Regions from separate parts of the Homo sapiens genome. Here regions 2 and 3 are each linked to region 1. The links are contacts of gene promoters, found by promoter capture Hi-C in blood cells and fetal thymus (Javierre and others, 2016). All regions are on one chromosome and are shown on one strand. Each heading gives the region's core, a stretch centred on a gene start or on the middle of the fragment in contact. The rest is flanking DNA. Distances are from core to core; before and after follow the strand shown.

Region 1 (3,746 bases), core at 372-2,871:
TGTATACTTTTCCTAATAAAAGAGGAACTTCTGTCCTGGTATATACACAATCTCTTTGGCAAATATTGTTAAATATTAAAATAAGGTGATCTTTGTTCACAGCCAGGAATACTGGCTTAGGTCACACATAATGCAAATTATTGTTTCAGTATTGCCATTCTCAGGAGTAGTAGCTGCTAACTTAGCAGCTATAGGAACACACCTGCTAATTGTATTCTTTAAAATGTAGACTTCATTACCCATTTCTAAAATATCTTCCTAGTAATTTGTCCAAGATCTCCAGGTCAGCAAAGACTGCTACTCTTTTAAGACCAATACTTTAAGAAACGGAATGAAAACTAGGAACTCACACACTCTGAACTCCACCTGCATCAGGTGGCCTTTCTGCTCCCATAACTAGGACGTTTCCAAATGCACCCCCAAATAAGGTACAATTCCCCAACATCCTAGTTACGGGGTTCTGGCTTCTATCTTTAGGCTACTGGAGGACCAGAAGCGAAATACGACTCCACGTGAAACCAATCCCGGGAGCGGTCAGCACGGACCGCCAACCTCACCCGCTCAGGGTGTTCGCTCTAACTCCACGGGAGTGGCGATTTCAAACCCGGCCGGGAGAGGGAGGGATCAGGAACGTAATGTGACGGGCTCAAGTGACAGCGTCCTCTCTCCAGCCCAACCCTCCCGGGCGGCGCTCCCTCCCGGTGGCAGCGCAGCGCTGGCGCCGGCCAGGTACATTCACGCCTAGCTCCCCTGAGTGTGGATACACGGCCCGCTCCAAGAACGGGGTCAGATCCAGCCCTCGCGCCCCAGTCCGGTCCCAGCGCCCTCTCTGGGAAAGGCGGGCGCGGGCGCGGGGGTGGGAGGCGCCCCCAGGTGTTTTGGCGGGTTTCCGGACACGTGCGCCCGGCGTCCTCCCCGCTTCCCCGCAGCCGGGGCAGAGCCCACCGCACCAGCTCGCGGAGCAGCCGAGCCGCCCGTTACGCCGCTCACCTCCGTCCCCGTAGGTCTCCACGCCGTACCCGTCTTGCAGCCCGTTACTCCAGGTACCCTCGTAGCGAGCGGGGGTGCACAGGCTCTGCCGGACCCCGTAGCGCCCCTTGAAACCATGTGACCACTCCCCCCGGTACATCCACTTGCCCTTCGTCTCCACCCCCAGCCCGTGCCGCTTGCCCTGCGCCCAGTAGCCCTGGTAGGTGTTGCCGCTGGGCCAGGTGTAGCCTCCGACCACCTCGAAGCCGTGCGACCAGGAGCCCGAGTACTCGCCCTGGCCCTTGGGCCCCGTGCAGATGCCATGCCCGTGCGCCTTGCCCTCCTCCCAGCCGCCGCAGTAGGTGCCGCCATCGTCGAAGTCGAACCTTCCGCCCGTCATTCGGGGGGCAGCCCCGGCGCGCTCCCCGCAGGGGCACGGACGCGGGCAGTGCTGGGCACGGCAGGGTGTAGCTCGGGGGTGGGGGCCCGGCGGGCGAGCTCACGACAGCGCCCTGGGCAGCTCGCGCTGCCGCTCGGCTCCAGTCCGACGCCGCCCCCGTCCTCCCTCCTCTTTTGCCGCCGCCACCGCCGCCTTCCTCCTCCTCCTCCTCCTCCTTCGCCGCCGCCGCCTGGGCCAGCGCCGCGCGCGAGAGGACAGCCCAGGTTCCCGAGCGGACCTTCAGCTGCTCCCGCCCGCCCACGTGAGCCGGGCACCGCCCCGCGCCCGCCCCTCGTCCCCTCCCCGGGCGCCGAGGCCCGGCCCCGCGGCGCTCCCGCCCCACCGGGCCCTGCCCCCAGCCCCGGGAGCCGCCGCTTCCTCGGCAGGCGGGCGCGCGCGGGGACCGGCTGGCGCGCATGTGTTCGCGCAGTGGGATGCCGGTGGGAGGGCGAGTGTACCCGGGGACGCACGAGAATCCCTGCCTGGAGATGAAGGCGCGGCTGCCTGTGTGGGGGCCGCTCGCGGGCGCCGGAGCCCCCGGTGTTTGTGTTTGGGGTTTTTCAAAGTGGTTAAGCTCCTGTGAGTGCGGCCACGTGTGTGTTGAGGGAAAACTCATTGTATGCGTGTTTGTCTGCATGGGGTTTGTAGTTGCATTGTTTTCGCATTCCAACTTGTGTACTGTTGCATTTGTCATGCTCAGCTGTCATCGTGAATTAATATCGCCTAGATATATGTATGCATGTGATGTAAATCTGCGGCAGCCTAGATATAATTGTGCAGAGTGTTCTTTTACACCTACCCGTTTCAAAGCACACGTGTTTGCATTTATTTAATGAAGACACTGAGGGTGAGCAGTACAGTTTGAAAAAGCACAGAATATATTGGTTAGTTTTTTATTAATAGTGATGAAGAGGATGTTTTCAATCGGCCTTTGCAGTGGTACAGGATATTCCTTTTACATTAGAGCCTGCCCCCTCTCGTGCCTCGTTTGTGCTTCTTAACAGCCTTAGAGATTCTTGAGCCTGGAGCTGTGTGCCCAACAGGTAGACGGCTCGGTCTGTGTACATTGTATAAGTGTCTGGAATGCACACCTCTCCACTGGTATCCACTGTTTAAGAAAGTAAATAGAGGTTTGCAAGGAGGAATATGGTAAGTAAAGCACTGCTCTAAACTTGCAAAGAAACTGTGACCTACAAAACCAGGGACAGATGTCAGCTGGTCTACTTTCTAGCTACAACACTGCTTTGTCGAATTCACTTTAGGCAACTCTTCTAAACTTTTAAACCTCCATTTCACCATCTTCTGAATGGGACTAACAAGATTTGCCTTTCTCTTTCTATATTCGGTAATAACTGAGTATATTGTGGCTGCAGTGCCAAACCAAAAATTAGAGATTTGGTAATAGGCAAGTTGGATCAGCATTGCCTCTGGTGAGAGAAAGCATTATTCTCCACCTCACCCTCAAAATACCCACGGGAGAAACTTCTCCCACTTTCACAGCCTAGGGTCTTAGTTTGGCCTCTCAAGGAAACTGATTTGGAGTGTATTCCTGCTATTTCTTAGGCTGAGAGGCCTTTGGGTGACTATGCGAGCATCAGAAGCTGCCAAAGGTTCTCTCACTAAGTATTTGATAATCAGATATAGATATAAGGACAGGTGTCAGGAAGACAGCCTGGGAAAAAGTAGACTAAACTGCACAGAAAAGGAACTGAAATTGACCTTGATTGCCTCTCTCTCAGGACGAGAGCCGACCTTTCCTACTTATCTGGCTGAAAGACTGAAAGAAAAATCTCAGTTTATGCAGAACCAAATCACCAAAGAGAATTAGAAGCCCTCATCCATGGCACTGCCCGCAGAGTTGCCAGGAATAGTGCTTACCCTAGTGGCCTGAAATAATTATGCATCTCTCGAAGCATCTTGTCCTGGACTGGGGATTGATTTAGGCCGCTGGGAAGATGAGGGCCAGGGCTTTGCGGCTGAGCCATAATTCCATTTCCCTGTTATGGGATACACCAGAATCAGGAGCTAATGTAGAAAGATGCATTCCCATATATTTTGAGGTTCTGTATGATATGAGAAAAAGTGTGGTTGCTCAAGCCAATATTTTGAATGGGGGAGTCTCTTTCTAAACTAGACTTCCTCATAGAGTAGTCTTTGTCCCTTTGCCTTTTTTTTTTTTTTGGATCCACCCAGTGTGTTAGGACCCATATATGTTCTTTAAGGGGATAAATTTTGGAAACCTTTATCTCTTTATTTATTACTCTTCCTAATTAGTTGTCATGCAAATGAGGGATTTTCTGGAACACAGAGCACAAACCAAGTTTCTGGCTTCTGTAAT
Region 2 (3,746 bases), core at 390-2,889, 360 kb before region 1:
GAGGATAAATAATTTGTTTCAGGTAGCGACAGAGCAGGAGCAGAAATCAAATCTTAGTCTAGAACACTTGCTAGGCATGGAGACAGATATTCAAAGTACCATCACTCTCTCTTTTTTTTTTTTTGAGAGGCAGTCTTGCTCTATTGCCCAGGCTGGAGTGCAGAAGCACGATCTCAGCTCACAGCAACCTCTGCCTCCCAGGTTCAAATGATTTGCCCGCCTCAGCCTCCCCAGTAGCTGGGATTACAGGCGTCTGTCACCGTGCCTGGCTAATTTTTGTATTTTAGTAGAGACCAGGTTTCGCCATGTTGGCCAGGCTGGTCTCGAACTCCTGACCTCAGGTGATCCACTTGCCTCAGCCTCCCAAAGTACCATTTCTAATTTGAGATAAAGCAGAGAAAATAGGCAGCACTAACAATTAAATCTGATGAGCCTTTTGCAGGCCTAAGAAGCGGTAAACACTGTACTAAATGCCTTACATACATTATCTTGTTTATTTATTTTTTGAGACAGAGTCTCACTCTTTGGCCCAGGCTGGAGTGCAGTGGCGTGATCTTGGCTCACTGCAACCTCTGCCTTCCAGGTTCAAACGATTCTTGTGCCTCAGCCTCCCGAGTAGCTGGGACTACAGGTGCATGGGACCATGTCCAGCTAATTTTTGTATTTTCAGTAGAGACGGGGTTTCACCATGTTGGCCAGGCTGGTCTTGAGCTCCTGACCTCAAGTGATCCACCCAACTCAGCCTCCCAAAGTGCTGGGAGTACAGGTGTGAGCCACTGTGCCTGGCCTATCTTATTTAAAAACAACTCTTCCACAAGGGAATTATTCTGATTTTAGAGATGAGAAACACTGGAAGAGTCTGCTACTTGTTGAAGGCTTCTACAGCTTAAGTGGCAGCGTTAGGATTTAAACCTAGGTAGGTCTGACTTCACAGCCCACATTCCACTCCTTCCATTATTGCCTACTACCACAGTAAAAAATTCTGGCTCCAGTTAAACTTAATTGCCACAATTCCCAACAGCTACTGATGTAAATCCTCAAATAGTTCTCTAAAATTTAAAAATAGTACTGTCATTTTATGATACTACGCAATTTAAAAATTCATGAGAGCCATTATTATTTTCTTTTCATTATACTGCTTTGTAAATACTCTTTTAAAAAACAAAACAAAAAAAAAAACAAAACAAATGCGAGAAAGCTTGAAGTACAAGAATTTCAAGGGCCAACTCTTTTATCTGGAAAATCCCTAGAATAAAACATTTAGGATGTTTATCTAACTAGCAGTAGCTAAGCAACAATGCAAAGTCACATCTTAGGAGCCCTTTGGGTAGCAACAGTTTCTCTACAGAGTTAATGTAGTAAATCAATTCCATCATTTTATACAACAGAGATTAAGGAGAGAAGAGGAGACCCACCCTTTCTCCCACCTTTGAAAGGGAAAATCAACATTAAGAGTTAAAATTCCTAATTCTTAGGTAGAAGTTAGAAATATTTAAAATATGATTCAGTTTGGACCCAATCCATAAGTTATCTAAAGAAATATAAGTTTGAGGAGACAAAAATTTCAGCTTGAACATGTATTCCATCACAGAGCTGAATTCTGGAAATATGAATTGGGCAGGTAAAAGCCACTCGTAGGGGAACCGCTGGATTGAGAATAGTTCTAGGCAGAAGAAAGAGCATGAACAATGGCCTGAGACGTCATTATGCTTTTAAGGTGTTACATATAAATATTAATCTCTTAAAGTTTTTTTGTGTATGTTTGTGTTTAATAACAAATACTTAAAAAATCTAGGTGAGCCTAGGGCCTACACTGAAATTAAGTGTTGAATCTAGTATCAGTGAATATTTATAAGATATTTGAATAGCTTATCCTTTGATTTGAAATATTACCTTTATCATATTCTATATTGCTACATGAAATTCTAGACTATATTCTGTACAGGAATAGTTGGGTAAGTCTCCATTTTGTTCTCACATGTTTCTTGTTAGGTCTACTTTTAGGTACTTTTAAGTTTCCATTATGAATGGGGTCTGTTTTACTATGATATTTTCTGAAAGGCTATTGCTCGTGTTGTTAAAAGCTTTAAAATGTCCTAAGTTGATTTTGCATCCCGTCATTTTTTTTGCAGAACTCATATAAGTTTTAATAGTTTTTCAGTTGACTTACTTGAATTACCTAAGTAGATAACAGACACTGCTGCAAAATCTGTTCTTCATATCTTTTTGTCTTTTTACATTGGCTATTTACTTGGATAAAATAAGGTTAGAACAGATCACTCACAAAAATACACTACAGATTAAAGAGCCAAATGTAAAATATCCATAAAAATCCATGAACTCTGGAAAAATAGCAGAAAAAAGAATACAACTAGCTTAGACAGGTATAAAAATGCTTGATGGGGCTGGGTGTGATGGCTCACGCCTATAATCCCAGCACTTTGGGAGGCCGAAGGGGGTGGATCACCTGAGGTCAGGAGTTCGAGACTAGCCTGACCAACATGGTGAAACCCCGTCTCCACGAAAAATACAATAATTAGCTGGGTGTAGTAGTGGGTGCCTGTAATCCCAGCTACTCGGGAGGCTGAGGCAGGAGAATGGCTTGAACCCAGGAGGCGGAGGTTGCAGTGAGCCAAGACTGCGCCACTGCACTCCAGCCTGGGCGATAAGAGTGAAATTCCGTCTCAAAAAAAAAAAAAAAAAAAAGTATTACATATAGTAGTGTGGATTGCAACAGGTAATCACAGTATGTTAAGTGGTCCCTGGATAGTGAATGATGGTTCTCTGTAGTTTATATTTTGGTGGGCTACAGTTGTTTCATATCAACTTATAAATGGCCAAAAAAAAAAAAAAAAAAGATAAGCACAGATTTCCTGAATCCTTATATGGAAAAGTGAGTCAAAGGTCAAAGCGTATGGTGAGAAAGGACAGTCTCTTCAACAAAGGAAGCTGGAACAATATCCATATGGATAAGAAGCTCACTGTTAAACCATACACAAAAATCAATTTCAGATGGTTCACAGAATTCAACTTAAAATGCAAAATAAGGCTACTAGAAGAAAACAAATTATTTTCATACCCTCACTGTAGGCAAAGATTTCTCAGCAGCCAGGTGCAGTGGCTCACACCTGCAATCGCAACACTTTGGGAGGGAGATCACTTGAGGTCAGGAATTTGAGACCAGCCGGGCACTCCAGCCTGGGCCACACAGCAAGACTCTGTCTCAAAAAACAAAACAAAAATCTCAGAAAAGATGCAAAAAGCACAAATTGTAAATGAAAAACTTGATGAACTGCATTTCTCCAAAACAAAACTTCTGTTCATCAAATACCATAGCTGGGCACCGTGGCTCACACGTATAATCTCAGCACTTTGGGAGGCCAAGGCAAGCTGACTGTTTGAACCCAGGAGTTTGAGACCAGCCTGGACAACATGGTGGTGAAACCCCGTTTCTATAAAAAATAGAAAAATTAGCTGGGCATGGTGGTGCATACCTGTAGCCCAAGGTATTTGGGAGGCTGAGATGGGAGAATCACCTGAGCCCGAGGAGGGTAAGGCTGCAGCAGGCCATGATGGTTCCACTGCATTCCAGCCTGAGCAAGAGTAAGACACTGTCTCAAAAACAAACCAAAAAAAAAAAAAAAAACTCTCAAAAACCAAAAAGAAAAATGAAAAAAATGAAGTCAAGCCACGAACTGGAAAAAAATATTCACAACGCGTATCTGACAATGGATTTGCATCTAGAG
Region 3 (3,746 bases), core at 474-2,973, 260 kb before region 1:
AGGTAACTGGAAGGTCATTTAAATTTGATTCTTTTCTCACTTTTAGAAAAAGAATATGCTGACTCCCTTATTCTAAGACAGCTCTCAGAGGCTCTTCAAACACAGCCATGTCTCATGTAGGTGACTCACATTTCTGAGGAACTCTGGAATAGGCCCAATTTCACTGTCCCCTGCCACACAGAAATCATGATTGTTGGGGCATATCTTCACACTCCCACTTAGGTTTCTCTCATCCTGCTAAGGCTTCCTTTAGGTCATTGATATGTATCAGTTTTAATTTGAGTGGTCTGAACTCACTAAAATGGCGACTTGGTAGCCAGGCTCACACCTGCAATTTTACTCTAACAGCTTAATTTCCTTACCTTACGTTTTATTCTCTGTTAAAGTAATCCAGGGGATGAGGTGTTAGCATAAGTTATGCTTCAGTATAAAAATGCGGAATAGAAGGGATAGAAAAGGGCAGTGAACATCTGTGGAGTAGAAAAGGGTTCCAGCTAGAGGTGAAAGCATGCATTCACTTTCTGGGATCCAGCCTGCCGTGATTACCTTCTTAGGCCTTCAATACTTCGTGAGCCTAAGGGCAGCTAGTAGTCCTGTTTGAAGAGGATACTTCTCCAGGTCTAGGCTTGAACAAATATGCCTGGGAGACTCCTATGACTCTAGCATATTAGATAGATGCTCCAAGAAACACTAGGACAGACTTTCTTTTGATTTCTTGTAAGGGTGAAAAAAAAAAACTAAAATATTACAACACAGATTATGCTGAACACATTCCCATTATCTTCCAGAGTGGTCTATTAAAATGCATTTCCATTTTATTTTCTTCATGATAGTTTTAATTATATTAAGCTGATCCAGAGGAAACTTCTGGATTATAACTTTAATTTCTACCTTAAACCTAAACTTTCTGCTACTCATGAACTTTAGCTTTTGAAAATATCATCCACTGCAAAACCTTTATGGAGAAAAATTTAAGTTTACTAGAGAATGTATTAGTCAGGGTTCTCCAGAGAAACAGAAGCAAAAGGATACTTACATATCTACACCTATCTATCTATCTAGAAAGTTTTTCTTTTTTTTTTTTTTTGGATGGAGTCTTGCTTTGTCACCCAAGCTGGAAGGCAGTGGCGCAATCTCGGCTCACTGCAACCTCCACCTCCTGGTTTCTAGCGATTCTCCTGCCTCAGCCTCCAGAGTAGCTGGGATTAAAGGCATGTGCCATGACGCTGGGCTAATTCTTGTATTTTAAGTAGAGATGGGGTTTCATCATGTTGGCCAGGCTGGTCTTGAACTCCTGACCTCAGGAGATCCACCCGCCTCAGCTTCCCAAAGTCCTGGGATTACAGGCATGAGCTACTGTGCCCGGCTGAAAGAGATTTATTATAAGATATTGGCTCATGCAATTATACGGAATGAGAAGTCCCACAGTTTGCTGTCTGCAAGCTGGAGACCTAGGAAAAGCCAGTGACGTAGTTCAAGGCCTGAGAACCAGGAGTGCCAAGGGCAGGAATTGATGTTTCAGCTCAAGCAGTCAAGCAGAGAGAGGATAATCCAAACTTCCTCCACCTTCTTGTTCTATTTAGGCCTTCCACGGATTGAATGATGTCCACCCACATTGGGGAAGGCCATCATCTTTACTCAGTCCACCAATTCGAGTACTAACCTCTTCTGGAAACACCCTCATAGACACACCCAGCAATAGTGTTTAATCAGATATCTGAGCATACTGTGGCCCAGGCAAATTGGTACATAAAATTAACTATCACAAAGGACACGAAAGAACAGCTGAAGAAATGAAGAAATCTAACATATTTATGGAAGCAAATGCTTGATAGAAAGATGTGAATTCTCCATAAATTAAATTATGAATTTAATGCAGTTCTAATAAAAATCCCAACATTATTGTGTGGAACTTAACAAACAGATTCTAAGAACTTCTAGCCAAGACATTCTAAAAAAGAAGCAGGAGGTGGGGATTTCTCTATCAGATATAAAGACATTTTTAAAAAGTTGTATAAATAAAACTGTACTACTGACACAGAATAGATAATTAGATCTGGGAACAGATTATATTTATAGGGACTTTCCATATACCCGTTGGAAAAGGGTAAATTCAATAAATGGCATTGCCAAAATTCACCTTCCTTATGGAAAAAAAATAAAATGAAATGTCTAATTCACATTTTTGAGTAGTTAAATTTCCAAAAAAGTTAAATTTCAAATGGATTACAGGTCTAAATGTGAAAAGCAAAACTTCAAAACTATTATAAGAAAATCTACTTAAAACTATTAGGAGAACAGCTTTATGATCTCAGGGCAAAATATTAGGCAAACAAGACACAAACAACAAAAGTATGAAATAAAAAAAGAGATAAATTTTGTTACATCCAAAACTTCAAACTTTGCTTGGGCGCAGTGGCTCAGGCCTGTAATCCCAGCACTTTGGGAGGCTGAGGTAGGTGGTAGCACTTGAGCTCAGGAATTTGAGACCAGCCTGGGCAACGTGGTGAAACCTTGTCTCTACTAAAAATACAAAAATTAGCTGTGCGTGGTGGTGTGCACGAGTGGTCCCAGCTACTCAGGGGGCTGAGGTGAGAGCCCAGGGGGCTGAGGTGAGCCCAGGAGGCAGAGGTTGCAGTGAGCCAGGATCATGCCACTGCACTCTACCCTGGGAGGGAGAGCCAGACCTTGTTTCAAACAACAACAACGACGACGACGACGACGACGACAACGAAAAACTTCCAACTCTTATTGTCAAAAGAAAAAAATACCATTAACAAAGATAAAAGTTAAGTGTCTGTCTGAGAGGTGTTTTCAGTTATAACAAACAATTGATATCCAGAAAATGTTTTCTTAAAATTTTATAAATCAATTAGCAAAGTTAAAAAAATCTAATGGGATAGGCAATAGGCCATTCTTAGCCTTCAGGTCTTGGCTTAAAATTCACTACCTATCGGAACCCTGACTTTCAGTCGGGGTAATTATATCACAATACTTTTCACTCTTAAATCATTTTTCCTTGTTGAACACCTAGACAGTGAACTCCTAGAGAGGAGGAAACAAATCTGAGGTGTTTTTTCTCTCCACTTTTGAGTCTCAGCTTCTTGCACATAATAGGTGTTCGATAAATATATGTCGAAAGACTGATGGAGTAAATGAATAAACCTGAGTCCCTCCTTGACCCTTGCGTACTGCACAGGCATAGCCCTCTCTTTGCTGTGCAAATCTAGAGGGTGGATGTTGGAACTCACAACCAAATTCATTTCAGGTAGTAAGCTGAGGGGTAGTCTGGTCACTCCTTGCCCTCAAGTTTTCTCCTGTATCCTAGGAGATTATGTTTCCTCAGGAGAAGTAAACTGATCTATTTATTTAACACTTGGGGTAATTCCAGGCCCACGTGGTCCTTCCAAACCTCTTTCTGGTAATCCAGTTTTCCGGTTTTGCCGTAGCAGGTTCTGAGCTTTGTTATTTGCTATCAAAAATACCATCCCTATTCAACAATGACAAAATGTTGAGCATTTCTATACCTTCGTGTCCTGGAGAATGGAACCTCTGTTTGTGTTCACAGGTATAATGCTATGTAATTTTTCTACTGCTTATAGGATGAAGGCCAAATTCCTTGGCATGCCAAATCAAGCCCTTTGAGGATCTGGCCTGCTCCCTTCTCTAGGCTCCTGTGCCACCTGATCGCTGTTATAGACTGAATGTTTGTGTCCCTTCCCATTTTAAAATGTTGAAACCATAAC

Evidence for each region. The method cuts DNA at HindIII sites, captures the fragments that hold promoters and counts their contacts. A CHiCAGO score of 5 or more calls a contact.
Region 2: a contact is called between a fragment that was not itself captured here and the fragment with the promoter of JPH1 in region 1, in 1 of 17 cell types (fetal thymus). The highest score is 5.4, in fetal thymus.
Region 3: a contact is called between a fragment that was not itself captured here and the fragment with the promoter of JPH1 in region 1, in 1 of 17 cell types (fetal thymus). The highest score is 5.6, in fetal thymus.

What each region holds. Positions count from the first base shown.
Region 1 is chr8:74,319,919-74,323,664 of GRCh38, forward strand. JPH1 (junctophilin 1) reads right to left here and starts at 1,622. Exons shown (of 6, transcript NM_020647.4): 1 at 991-1,622. The coding sequence starts at 1,369. RefSeq lists an enhancer at 689-1,579 and a silencer at 1,673-1,772. The HindIII fragment of the contact is 5,373 bases long and covers 1-3,746 here.
Region 2 is chr8:73,961,408-73,965,153 of GRCh38, forward strand. All of the region lies in intron 1 of ELOC (elongin C), which reads right to left. Among named protein-coding and RNA genes, the nearest start is that of ELOC, 8.9 kb to the right of the region's middle. The HindIII fragment of the contact is 886 bases long and covers 1,197-2,082 here.
Region 3 is chr8:74,057,452-74,061,197 of GRCh38, forward strand. It overlaps a transcript of LY96 not described here. Among named protein-coding and RNA genes, the nearest start is that of LY96, 68 kb to the left of the region's middle. The HindIII fragment of the contact is 7,541 bases long and covers 1-3,746 here.